Linked DNA regions of Homo sapiens: region 2 is linked to region 1. The links are contacts of gene promoters, found by promoter capture Hi-C in human tissues and cell types (Jung and others, 2019). All regions are on one chromosome and are shown on one strand. The core of a region is centred on a gene start or on the middle of the fragment in contact, and the rest is flanking DNA. Distances in the headings are between cores, read along the strand shown.

What was found. The method cuts DNA at HindIII sites, captures the fragments that hold promoters and counts their contacts. A contact is called where the count stands out against the background at its distance.
Region 2: a contact is called between a fragment that was not itself captured here and the fragment with the promoter of EPN3 in region 1, in 6 of the 25 tissues and cell types used here (aorta, bladder, dorsolateral prefrontal cortex and 3 more).

Annotation. Positions count from the first base shown.
Region 1 is chr17:50,529,486-50,535,078 of GRCh38, forward strand. It overlaps EPN3 (epsin 3), which reads left to right and starts at 3,250. Exons shown (of 10, transcript NM_017957.3): 1 at 3,250-3,500. It overlaps MYCBPAP (MYCBP associated protein), which reads left to right. Exons shown (of 19, transcript NM_032133.6): 19 at 1,842-2,016. The coding sequence ends at 1,943. RefSeq lists enhancers at 4,116-4,792, 4,793-5,469. The HindIII fragment of the contact is 9,890 bases long and covers 1-3,695 here.
Region 2 is chr17:50,334,558-50,340,150 of GRCh38, forward strand. No RefSeq gene overlaps it. Among named protein-coding and RNA genes, the nearest start is that of XYLT2, 8.8 kb to the right of the region's middle. The HindIII fragment of the contact is 7,744 bases long and covers 1-5,593 here.

The DNA.
Region 1 (5,593 bases), core at 2,000-4,499:
TAAAGAGTGCTCCAGGCATGGGGAGCAACTGCCATAGGAGGGAGGGGCCAGAAGGGAGAGGGCAGTAGTGGGGAGCAGGTCATAGGGGTGGGGGATGGTTTGCAGGCTATTGTGAAGACTTGGGATTTTTCGGAGTGAAATGAGAAGTCACGCAAGGTTTTGAATAGAAACGCAATAGGGTCTGATAGGCTTTAGAAGGTGGCTCTGGCCGCCCTTTGGAGAACAGACTCTAGGGGAACAGAGAGGAAGGAAGCCCTTCTCTTTCTTACTCCCCGTTAGGTGCATCCTGGCAGATGCGTTCCTTGGGAGAACACCATGCAGGGTGCATTCCCATCAACTGTAAGAGTTTGAAGGACTAGAGAGACTTCATCCTAATCCGTTCTTAAGTAGCAGGTCCTTAGAAATTCACCCAGGTTTTCCGTTTTGTTTGTTAGTGTTGTTGTTTGTTTTGGAGGGGAGGTCCACAAAGCCATTTTCAATATGTCAGTATGTCTATTGGCGACGTCTTGCCTTCCTCTAATGTGGATAGCTGGGGAGCTGGGATTACATCATGTATTGTGGTCACACTCTGGATCTCATTTGATCAAAAGTTCCATTTGCCACTGGTGACATCACTAAGATATCAGATGGTTGATGGGGTCTAGAAAGTAATTAAAGGGCTCTGAGGACCCATGGGGGTCAACGTCAACCCTTCCATGGCTCTTTGATATTAAGAATCAACTTGCAGACCAGGTGCGGTGGCTCGTGCCTGTAATCCCAGCACTTTGGGAGGCCAAGGTGGGCAGATTGCCTGAGCTCAGGAGTTCAAGACCAGCCTGGGCAACATGGTAAGATCCCGTTTCTACTAAAAATTCAAAAAATTAGCCAGGCATGGTGACACTCACCTGTAGTCCCAGCTACTTGGGTGGCTGAGGCACAATAATCGCTTGAACCCGGGAAGTGGAGGTTGCAGTGAGCCGAGATCACGCCATTTCACTCCAGCTTGGGTGACAAGAGTGAGACTCTTACCTCCAAAAAAAAAGAATCAACTTGCTGGCCAGTGGCTCACACCTGTAATCCTAGCACGTTGGAAGGCTGAGGCAGGTGGATTGCTTGAGCCCAGGAGTTCGACATCAGCCTAGACAACACAGGGAGACCCCATCTCTGCAGAAAAAAAAAAGAATCAACTTGTCTGGGCTTGTATGATCCAACCCCATTGGAGGGGTCAGTCCCAGAGACCTTTCAGTCTGTGGATACAGGAAGGAAAATTGGCCTCCAGGAGGCCAGAGTAGAACTGGGGCTGAGCCCAGGCCCACCCCAAACGGCTAAATGGGCACCGCTCCATGGGCTCCCTGGAGTTGCCCCTTGAACAACTTAGCTCTAGTATCTCCATATGTCAAAGGTACCAGCGCAGGGCCACCTCCCCAGACTGGTTTGAAAAGTAAAACTGCAAAAGCAGGTGGATTGCTTGAGCCCAGGAGTTCGAGACTAGCCTGGGCAATGTGGTGAAACCCCATCTCTACAAAAAATAGAAAAAAGTAGCCAGGTCTGGTGGTGCACGCCTGTAGTCCCAGCTACTTGGGAGGCTGAGATGGGAGAATCACCTGAGCCAGGGAAGTCAAGGCTGCAGTGAGCCATGATCACACCACTGGACTCCAGCCTGGGTGACAGAGTGAGATCCTGTCAAAAAAAAAAAAAATCTGCAAAACCAAAAATTATTTCACAAGAACTTTGAACTTGTGAAATTCTTTCACAAACAACTGGTTTCTTTCCCCTCTCCAGCTATTCTCTCACAGCATAGTTCATATATAGGTGCTTCCCACAGAGTAAACTCTGCCTGTGATGTTGTCCCGTTCTTCCAGGTCCGTGGGCTGCTGGACACCCTGGTGACTGACCTGATGGTCCTGGCTGATGAGCTCAGCCCCATAAAGAATGTCGAGGAGGCTTTGCGCCTCTGCAGGTGACTCTCGGGCCCAAGCAACCTTCTGGAAAACGGGTTAATAAATAAATCAATAAAGAACCTTCAAGTTTCTACTACTTCCGTGTGCCTCTGTGTCTTGCATGATGGATCTTGGCTAGGTCAGCTCCTGATCCAGGTCCTCCCATGTTCCACCTGCCCTCAGATCCCCTCCTGCCAGCTGCCAGAGCCCTCCTGCAGGAGGACAGACAGACATAGCTGGGGAAGTGATGTGTGGGATGCCAAGCAGAGGAGCAGATTGGTAGCAAGACAAGGAGTCAGGTGACAGGACAGTGTGTCACCTCTGGTAGTCCCTGCCTCTGGCTTCCTTGGCCCACACTTTCAGGGTCGTGCTTCCTGGAGCCAGGTCTTCCCGAAGTGTCATCACCAAGTATGACAAAGTGTGAGATGAGGAGTAGAACTAGACCCATGGGACCTGGCTCCCTGCCATCTCCCCTCTTCAGCTGGGTCCCAGGGCCCCAATTCAGTCCCTGAAGATCATGCTCACCACACCTCTTCAGCTCTAGAGGCCACATCACCTTGTTATTTCGGGGTCTAGTCTGCCTTATCCCCCTCCTCATCTCAAACTATCTGGCCTTGAGCCATCTTTCTGCCTTAAAAACAGCTGCTGATCTTCATGCTACCTCCCTTGCTCAGGGGAACATGAAACAGGCTAGAAATGGCTCTCAGAAAAAAAGGTATTGTCAGCTCAAACTCAGGCCCCTCATTGTCTTCTGTCAGTCATAACCATTTGGGGCTGGGCTCCCTGTGTGAAGAGCACTCCAGGCTCCCAGAGTTTGAAGAACAACTTTGGTTTTTGGGTGGGTGGGCATCCTTAAGTGGGCCTCAGGCATCCTCCAGCTGAGATGCAGGAGGGGGAGGATGGACAGAAGGATCTGACTCCGTGTGGGAAAGGCAGGGAGGGGGCTGTGCTGGAGTCCTGATGCTCTCCTCCCCAAGAAGACGAGAAGACGGGGGCTCCACCAAAGAGCCAGCCCCAGGGAATGTCCCTGCCCTCTCCTTTAATGTCCTCCCGGCCCAGAGGAGGAAGGGGAGGGGTGTGGTGGGGGTGTTGGAGCCCCCCTCCTTTCCTGTTGAAGAGGCAGGGGAAGGGTTAACTCAAAGCAGAGGGGATCAGGTCGCCAGCACTGGCTCCAGATGTGCACTTCCTGGGGGCGGCCAACAGGCAGGCCCCCCACCTCTCAATGCACCACTTGCCTGGCCAGCAGGAAGGGGTTAACCTGCCCTGCACTTCCTCCTGTGTCCTGTTACTGCTGAGGCAGACCTGCCGGGCCAGCTGAGCAACTTTCCTCGGAGTGCTGCCTGGCGCTGGCTAGGAGGCAAACGCACGCGGGAAGAGCTGCTACCCATTCCAGGGACCCTGCCGCTGCCCCTCTGAGGGGTCTGCACCTCCTGGGAGCAGGTGGGTCTCTGGGACGAGGGTCCATGGTGGATGGCTCTGGAGACGCTCCCGAGGCTGTGCCGTCCCGCTGCTGCACAGGTCGGAGGGTCACCGCAGAGGCTACTCGGGCTGGGGCTGGGGCCGAGGGAGCCCGCACTGGAGGTAAGCTTCCTCCCTGGCCCCCTCCCTGGCAGTGGCGGCATGGAAGGCGGGGGTTGGTGGGGAGCAAACAGTGGTTCTGGGGCTTAGTCTCTTTTCCAGGTGCGAGGGAGAAGGCTGAGCTGTAGAGGACCTAAAGGCTTCTTTCCTGCCACCCCTCCCTCCCTGCCGCCCCCAAAAAGGGACTCAGGGCCCCCTCCCCAACCATCCTGGGACTTAGCATCTTTGGTGGCATCTTAGCATCTTTGGTGGCATTCCCCACAGACTCCTTCTGCACATCTCTGCTGTTTCCTCTTCTTCAGCCCCTCATGCACACCTCTAGCCTCAGGGCAGTCCCCCCTCCCCCATCTTCTGTGCTCCCGGGATGCAGCTATTACAGTGGCCAGAAGCTTAGAGTTCAAGCTCACCCCCTGTCCCTTACAGCATCAAGAAGGGCACTGTCATTCCCCACTGCTCAGGCTGGATCTGACTTGGAGGCAGGGGCTGGAGCCCACCTTAGCAGAGGACGGGAAGAGGGTGTGGGCTGGGCTGGTGGGTGCACAGACTTTACGCAAACTCATGCACGTGTGACTGGACAGATCTGGGTTCTCTCCATCTCTCCGAAACCCTTGCTGGGGATGAGCGATCTGCATTTTTCGGTCCTGACTTTTGGGAAACTCTCCAGATCCCCCCATCCTGCAGGCCCTGAGAAGAGCAGCCCCTCCCTACTGCGCAGTTCTCCTTGGGACCCTGTATGCAGGAGAGAGCTGATACTCCGTGCCCCGTGGCCCATCCCACCGCCTGCTGGCCCTGCTCCCATCCCCTCAGCTTCCTCCCTCCTCTGCCCTCTCGTCATCTCTGAATTCTCAGGCCCTGCCCTCTCTGTGCCCTTCCCTCCACCTGACAGGGTCTGGCTCAAGGTCACTGCAGTAATTCCATACCCAGCTGCCCAGGGCTGCTGCTGCTACCGCCACCGCCTTATCGGCCGCTGGGTTTCTGTTACACTCCCTTTTATTTCTGGGCATATCGTGTTCGATAAAACCCTTTGCTTGTAACACTGCTGGCAGCGCTCCCAGCTGCTCCCTCCCGCGTTCCCGCGTTCCTTCCTTTCCTCCTCCCTTCTCTGCGCTTGGGCAGGCTTCTTCCTTTCCTCCTCCCTTCTCTGCGCTTGGGCAGGCTTCTTCCTTTCCTCCTCCCTTCTCTGTGCTTGGGCAGCCTCACCTTGTCCCCTCAAACTCCAGAGAAGGAAAATCAAGGTGCCTCCCCATGTTTCTGGCCCCGCCCTTCCCCCCAGCCCCTGCAGGGGTGTGCAGAGAATGCCCACCTTCTGTGAGAAAGGTCCAGGCAGGGCCGCTGGGCCCACACCGAGAGTCCCCTCCCAGAGGCTGGTGCCCCCACACAGGCCAGGCCGGAGGGCCAGGGCAGCCAGGTCCAGGTAGGGCTCTGGTGCAGTCACAGTGCCCGACTGGTTCTGCTAGTTCCAGCGGCCAGCCGGTAGGGGCGTGTGCTGGGCGGGCTTTGGTGCACATTATTTCCCATCTTGACTCTGCCACCCCCAGCCACGGGTTGGGGAGGTGAAGGCAGGTCTGAGTCACTAGCAAGGGGGAGGGCAGGAGTTAAACAAGTTGTGGCCGTGGCATTCCCACAGAAGGCCCACGACCCGCTGGAAGGAAAGAGATAGCAGACAAAAGGTAGGCTGCGCTGTGGGCCAGGCACTCTCCACCTCGCCCACTCCCACGGTATCTTATTCTCTGGGCCCCCAACAAAACCTGCCAAGGCATGTTTTCAAAGCGTGGGGCTGCTTTGAACTGAGCCCAGCACTGGCGGGGCTGGGGTGGAAGGAGCGTGGAATCGGGTGCGAGAGGACAGTCTCCTTCAGATTCCTGCTTCTGGCAGCCTGGGGACCAGTTGGGGCACGGGCTGGGATGGAGGGTGGAGCCGAAAGGTGTTTGGTGGGTGGGGGACAGTTCACGGGTGAAGTGGAGGCTCTGCAGGCCCAGACAGTGTGTGTGTGCATGCACACACCAGTGCTAGTGTGGGAGGAATGGTGGTGGTCAGGGAATTCCTCTTTTGGTTTCTGAAAGGGCCTTTGGGAGGACCTTGGGCCTGGAGTTGTA
Region 2 (5,593 bases), core at 1,089-3,588, 200 kb before region 1:
GATTACAGGCATGAGCCACCATGGTTGGCCAGAGATTTTACTTTTCTATCTTTAGTTCTCTTGGATTTTTTTTTTTTTTTTTTTTTTGAGACGGAGTCTCGCTCTCTTGCCCAGGCTGGAGTGCACTGGCATGATCTCGGCTCACTGCAACCTCCGCCTCCCAGGTTCAAGCGATTCTCCTGCCTCAGCCTCCTGAGTAGCTGGGATTACAGGCATGCGCCACCATGCCCCGCTAATTTTTGTATTTTTAGTAGAGACAGGATTTCACCATGTTGGCCAGGATGGTCTTGATCTCTTGACCTTGTGATCCACCCGCCTCAGCCTCCCAAAGTGCTGGGATTACAGGTATGAGCCACCGCGCCTGGTCATATTTTTTTTAAAAAGTTTTTAAAACAAATTTAAATGCAGGAAGGGGCAGTGATAAATAAGGATCTTACAAACAAATGGGAAAAAATAACAGAGAGCTTAAATTAAAATGATCTCAGACTTCCCTTGAGCCCAAGAGTTCGAGGCTGCTGTGAGCTATCCCTCCTGAATAGTCTTCTTGAATAAATCACTGTCTTCTCAAGACTACAGCATGCAAAAGAAGAAAATGTCAATTTCTTTTTATCTCAAGTCATCATTAGAAATACATTGTACTTTTAGACCAGGCGTGCTGGGATTACAGGCGTGAGCCACTGTGTGGAGCTTTGTTTTTCTTGTTTTTCTGAGACAGGGTCTTGCTCTGTCACCCAGGCTGGAGTGCAGTGGCATGATCATAGCTCACAGCAGCCTCAAACCCTTGGGCTCAAGTGATTCTCCCACCTTAGCCTCCCAAGTAGCTGGGACTACAGGTGCACATCACCATGCTCGACTAACTTATTTTTTTTTATTTTTCATTGAGACAGGGTCTTACTCTGTCGTTCAGGCTGGAATGCAGTGACACAACCATGGCTCACTGCAGCCTCCACCTCCCAGACTCAAGCAATCCTCCCTGCTCAGCCTCCTGAGTAGCTGGGACTACAGGCATGCACCACCACACCTGGCCAATTTTTTTTTTTTTTTTTTTTTTTTTTAGTAGAGACAACCAGGCTGGTCTCAAAATCCTAAGCTCAAGCAATCCGTCTGCCTTGGCCTCCCAAAGTGCTAGGATTATAGGTGTAAGTCACCATGTCCCACCCCCATTCTATGTTTTTTAAAATGTAGCCATAATCCTTTAAATTGAGTGGGTTGTGACCTGTAGTTTGAACTACACTGATCTAGAAAAACCTAAAGGATAGGCCATGTTGTCATTCATGTATGAAGGCAACAAAAAGACCTCAGGTGTGGAAGTTATTTTTAAAAGAATCCCTCCTGAATACTCTTCTTTAATAAATCACTTGAAGATGTATGCCAGGACAGTAGAGAAAAAATCAGATGTAAATACTCAAGAATGAGAAAAATATCTAGCTTGAAGCACCTGCTTAGAGGTTTAGGGGAAGGAGAGTTTTCATGTCTTCTCAAGACTACAGATTGCTAGCACCTTTTTGCAATGTTCTGGCAATATCTTTTAAAAGAGAAATGTACATACCCATCTCACTCTTGGAAATCTATCATACAAAAATAAAGACACCAGTATATCAGGTGATATGAACTAAGATGCTTCTTGAAGCCATATGTGTAGGGGCAAAATAACTAGCAATGACCTCAATGCCCAATAACAGGTGAATGGCTTAATAAATTATGGTGTATCTATACTAAAGTAATAAACATTATGTAGCTATTATGTATTAACCTGGAGGGGTATCCATGATAAAATGATGATTTATTTAAAAACACAGTGTTGGGTAATTTCTGTATCATCTTACTTCTGTAAAACATGGAGTGGAAACCTACCAAAGGGTTGACATCTGCATATATTTATATGAGCAGAGAGAAGAATGTGGAAGCAACAAAGCAAACGGGCCAGGCTGGTTAATTCTAAGTAGAGAGCAGAGGGGAAAGAAAGGGAGATCATTGGCTGTTCTGAAACAGTTTTTAATTAATTCGTTGCCTTATTTTTGAAATTTTTGAACTATTTCTTTTGAGACAGGGCCTTGCTCTGTCACCCAGGCTGGAGTGCAGTGGTGTGATCATGGTTCACTGCAGCCTCACTCCCCTGAGCTCAAGCAATCCTCCCACCTCAGCCTCCTGAGTAGCTGGGACTACCGACGGTAGTCCCACATCTGGCTAATTTTGGTATTTTTAATACAGATGGGGTTTTGCCATGTTGCTCAGGCTGGTCTCAAACTCCTGGGCTCAAGCTATCTGCCTGCCTCAGGAAGTAATTTTTTAAATTATCTACTTGGCAAAGGGCATTGAACAAGTTAATATATATGCATTACTCTAAATATTTTTAAATAGTCTCAAAACTGAAGATTAAAAAAAAGAGAGATTATTCCCTTAAAAGAAATTAGCTACATTATAAACCAAAATGACAAAGTTCATAACCCCAGATGAACTTTTAACAAGTGAGAATGATCCTTGTTCACATAGTAGAGAGAGAAAAGAAGTGGGGATGAATAGGGAGAAACTAATTTTCTACAATGGGAAATAAAAATTATAGTTCTATGAGGACTGTGATCATTGAATATCTGTGAAGGCTAAAGCAACTCCATATTGGAGGCTAAGCCGCCATGATGACTTCTGATTAGCCCCAATTCTGGGAATTCCTCTAAGCTTTCCAGTCTATCTATTGTTACCTGTGTAAGAACAGGTACTTACCTCCCTTAGGTCAAAACAACTTTGATGTTATCATACTTCAATTGTCCTTCACCTGCCTTCTGGATCACATATACCCCTTCCCTGTGGTAGATAAGCCCTGGGTCTTAGGGGGTAACATCTTGTCTCCCTGCCAGCCACTGCACAAGACACAGACCTGGCTTCTGTTTCTAATTTCCTATTGTTTATTTCTAAGAAACTGAATTTGTCAGCCTTTTTCTTCAGTCTCTCAGTTTCCTTGGACTTTGGCGACAGGTTTGCACAGGCCTACCCACTGAGGAACAATGTCACATTAAAATTATCTGAAAAGTTGTAAGTAAACACAAGTAGAATTTTAAAAAGAATTCTAGAGCTAGCACAGTGGTGCACACCTGTAGTCCCAGCTACTTGGGTGGCTGAAGAGGGAGGATCACCTGAGTCCAGGAATTCAAGGCCAGCCTGGGCAATATAGTAAGATGCTCCTTGTCTAAAAAAAGAAAAAAAAATTTTTTTAAAGAATTCTAATTCTTGCTTTCTAAATTATTAAGGAAGATTATAGCAGACGAACAGTCTATATAGCCCTGAAAGGAAAATTAACAGCAAAATGCGTTTAAGGCCTAAAACTCAGGCGCAGTATTAAATGCTGATACTGACTTTATATGCGGTGAAATTGGGAGGCTTTGACTGGCCTAGCCACAAGTTCACCTCCTCACTCTGCTCCCTTGGATAAGGTCCCCCAGCCAAATAACCCCCCTTATCAAGGGGACCAGGAGCACTTCCTGCTTATTCCTGAGTAGTGGGTTTCAGTTTCCTGCCAGCCTGCAGCCTGCATAATTATCCACATAAGCCAGTCACATCTTCCTGCTGAAACTAGGGGACATCTCATCCTCTTGATACTACAAAGCCTGCCTCCCACAGCCCTTAGTTGCTCACTGTCTCTGAGCGCAACCCCTGTGTGGCCCTGCATGGTGTGTGATATCCTGCCCTGGGCTATGAGTATATGTGACTAATACACTACTGTCAATCTCATCTGCCCAGAATCAAATGTCGTGTGTTTGGCCATCTCTGTAAACCTAGGATGGGAATCCCTCCCTCACCAATGGAGTGAATAGCACAGAAAATATTAAGGAAAGCCATTAAGTAAGTTGATAAAAGCTGTACCAACCCTGGTACTGCTGGAAGAGAAAAAGGAGAATAGAAGATTTTACCAATCCAACAGAATATAGTAAAGGGAAAAAAAGTGGAGAAAGAAGGCAGTGAGCAGAAAATGTGGAATAATCATAATCAAAGAAAATCCAAATAATCCATTAATGGCACTAAATGTAAACTGATTAAAGAAACAGTAAAACTTAGAGTATCAGATTGAGTTTTAAAAATCAAAATCCTCTTGTATGTTACTAATATTTTCCTTGAATTCTGAAATAATCTCAGCTATCATAGCTTCAATATTATTTCCTTGCCATTTTCCTTATTTTCTTACTCTGGAAATCCTGTTATACATAGTTTGAGTCTCTCAATCTATTCTCCTACTCTTCAAACTGTTCTTATTTTTAATCAAAGTACCTCTTTTTGCTGCATTCACTGTCAATTCTTTAGAGCTATCTTCCAATTCACTAATTTTATCTTCAACTATATCCAGTCTAAAGTTCACCCTATCTTTTGAGATATTTTTATTGCTTTTCTACATTTTTATTTCTGAGATGTATAATTATTTATATTTCATATGTATATCTTCATTTCATTTTCATCTACATTTGTTTCATAATTTCTTGTTTGTCAGATGATTTCTTCATTTACTTCTTTGAGCCATCCTTATTTTCAAGTCTTTGTCATATGAGTCCAAGAGATGAATTTCATGTGGAGAAAGTTCATATTCCAGTTGTTGAATTGCTTGGCTATCTTTTTTATCATTCCATTTCTTCATGTCCTTTGGAATTTGGGTTTACAGGCTCATTGTAGCTGAGAATTTTTGTTTTTGCATTGTGCTTTTTACTCTCTCCTTTTTTGTCTGGTGGGTTTAGTTTCGTCATGGCATTCACTGTGCCCTAGTCCAGAAATAGTTTTGTGATAGTGGTTGGGAACTCATGCTCTTCACTGATATTGGGAGATGTGCAGACCCAGAGTTAGAGGATGGCTTGACCTAAGTCTGGGTTGTGAGGCTGTTTTTGTTCTGCAGCCTTCCTAGGTCCACCATTTGGGCCATAGCTCCTGAGATCTGGTCAGCTGCACTTTTTGTTTTCAGTCTCCTTTCACAAGCAGGGTAGCCTCACTCTAGTCTGTGGCTGCTGCCAGAGTCTGGTTCCATCCCCCATTCCCTGTGCAACATTTTAGTTCCCATTACCCCATAGGCCCTTGGCTTTGGTCCTACTCACCACTTTGCTTTCCAGTTTGTTCTCTTTCTTATCCACCTAAATGTTTATCCTGTTTTTAAGCTTGTATATATCTTATCAATGCCTTTAAAAACTTTATCTCTCATTGTTAAGTATTTGGAGAATAGAGAGTGGGTCAAAGTATGAACTTTCCAACCTTCCCCTCATTATTTTATTTATTAATTTATTTCTTTTTTGAGACCGAACCTAGCTCTGTCACCCAGGCTGGAGTGCAGCGGCCTGATCTTGGCTCACTGCAACCTCCACCGCCCGGGTTCAATTCTTCTACCTCAGCCTCCTGAGTAGCTGGGATTACAGGCACGTGCCACCATGCCCAGCTAATTTTTGAATTTTTAGTAGAGACAGGGTTTCACCATGTTGGCCAGGCTGGTCTCAAATTCCTGACCTCAAATGATCCACCCCCACTTGGCCTCCCAAGTGCTGGGATTACAGGTGTGAGCCACCACACCTGGCCTCATTAATGTTTCAGTCACTTGGAATGGAGTGGAGACAGAGTTTCTACTTCT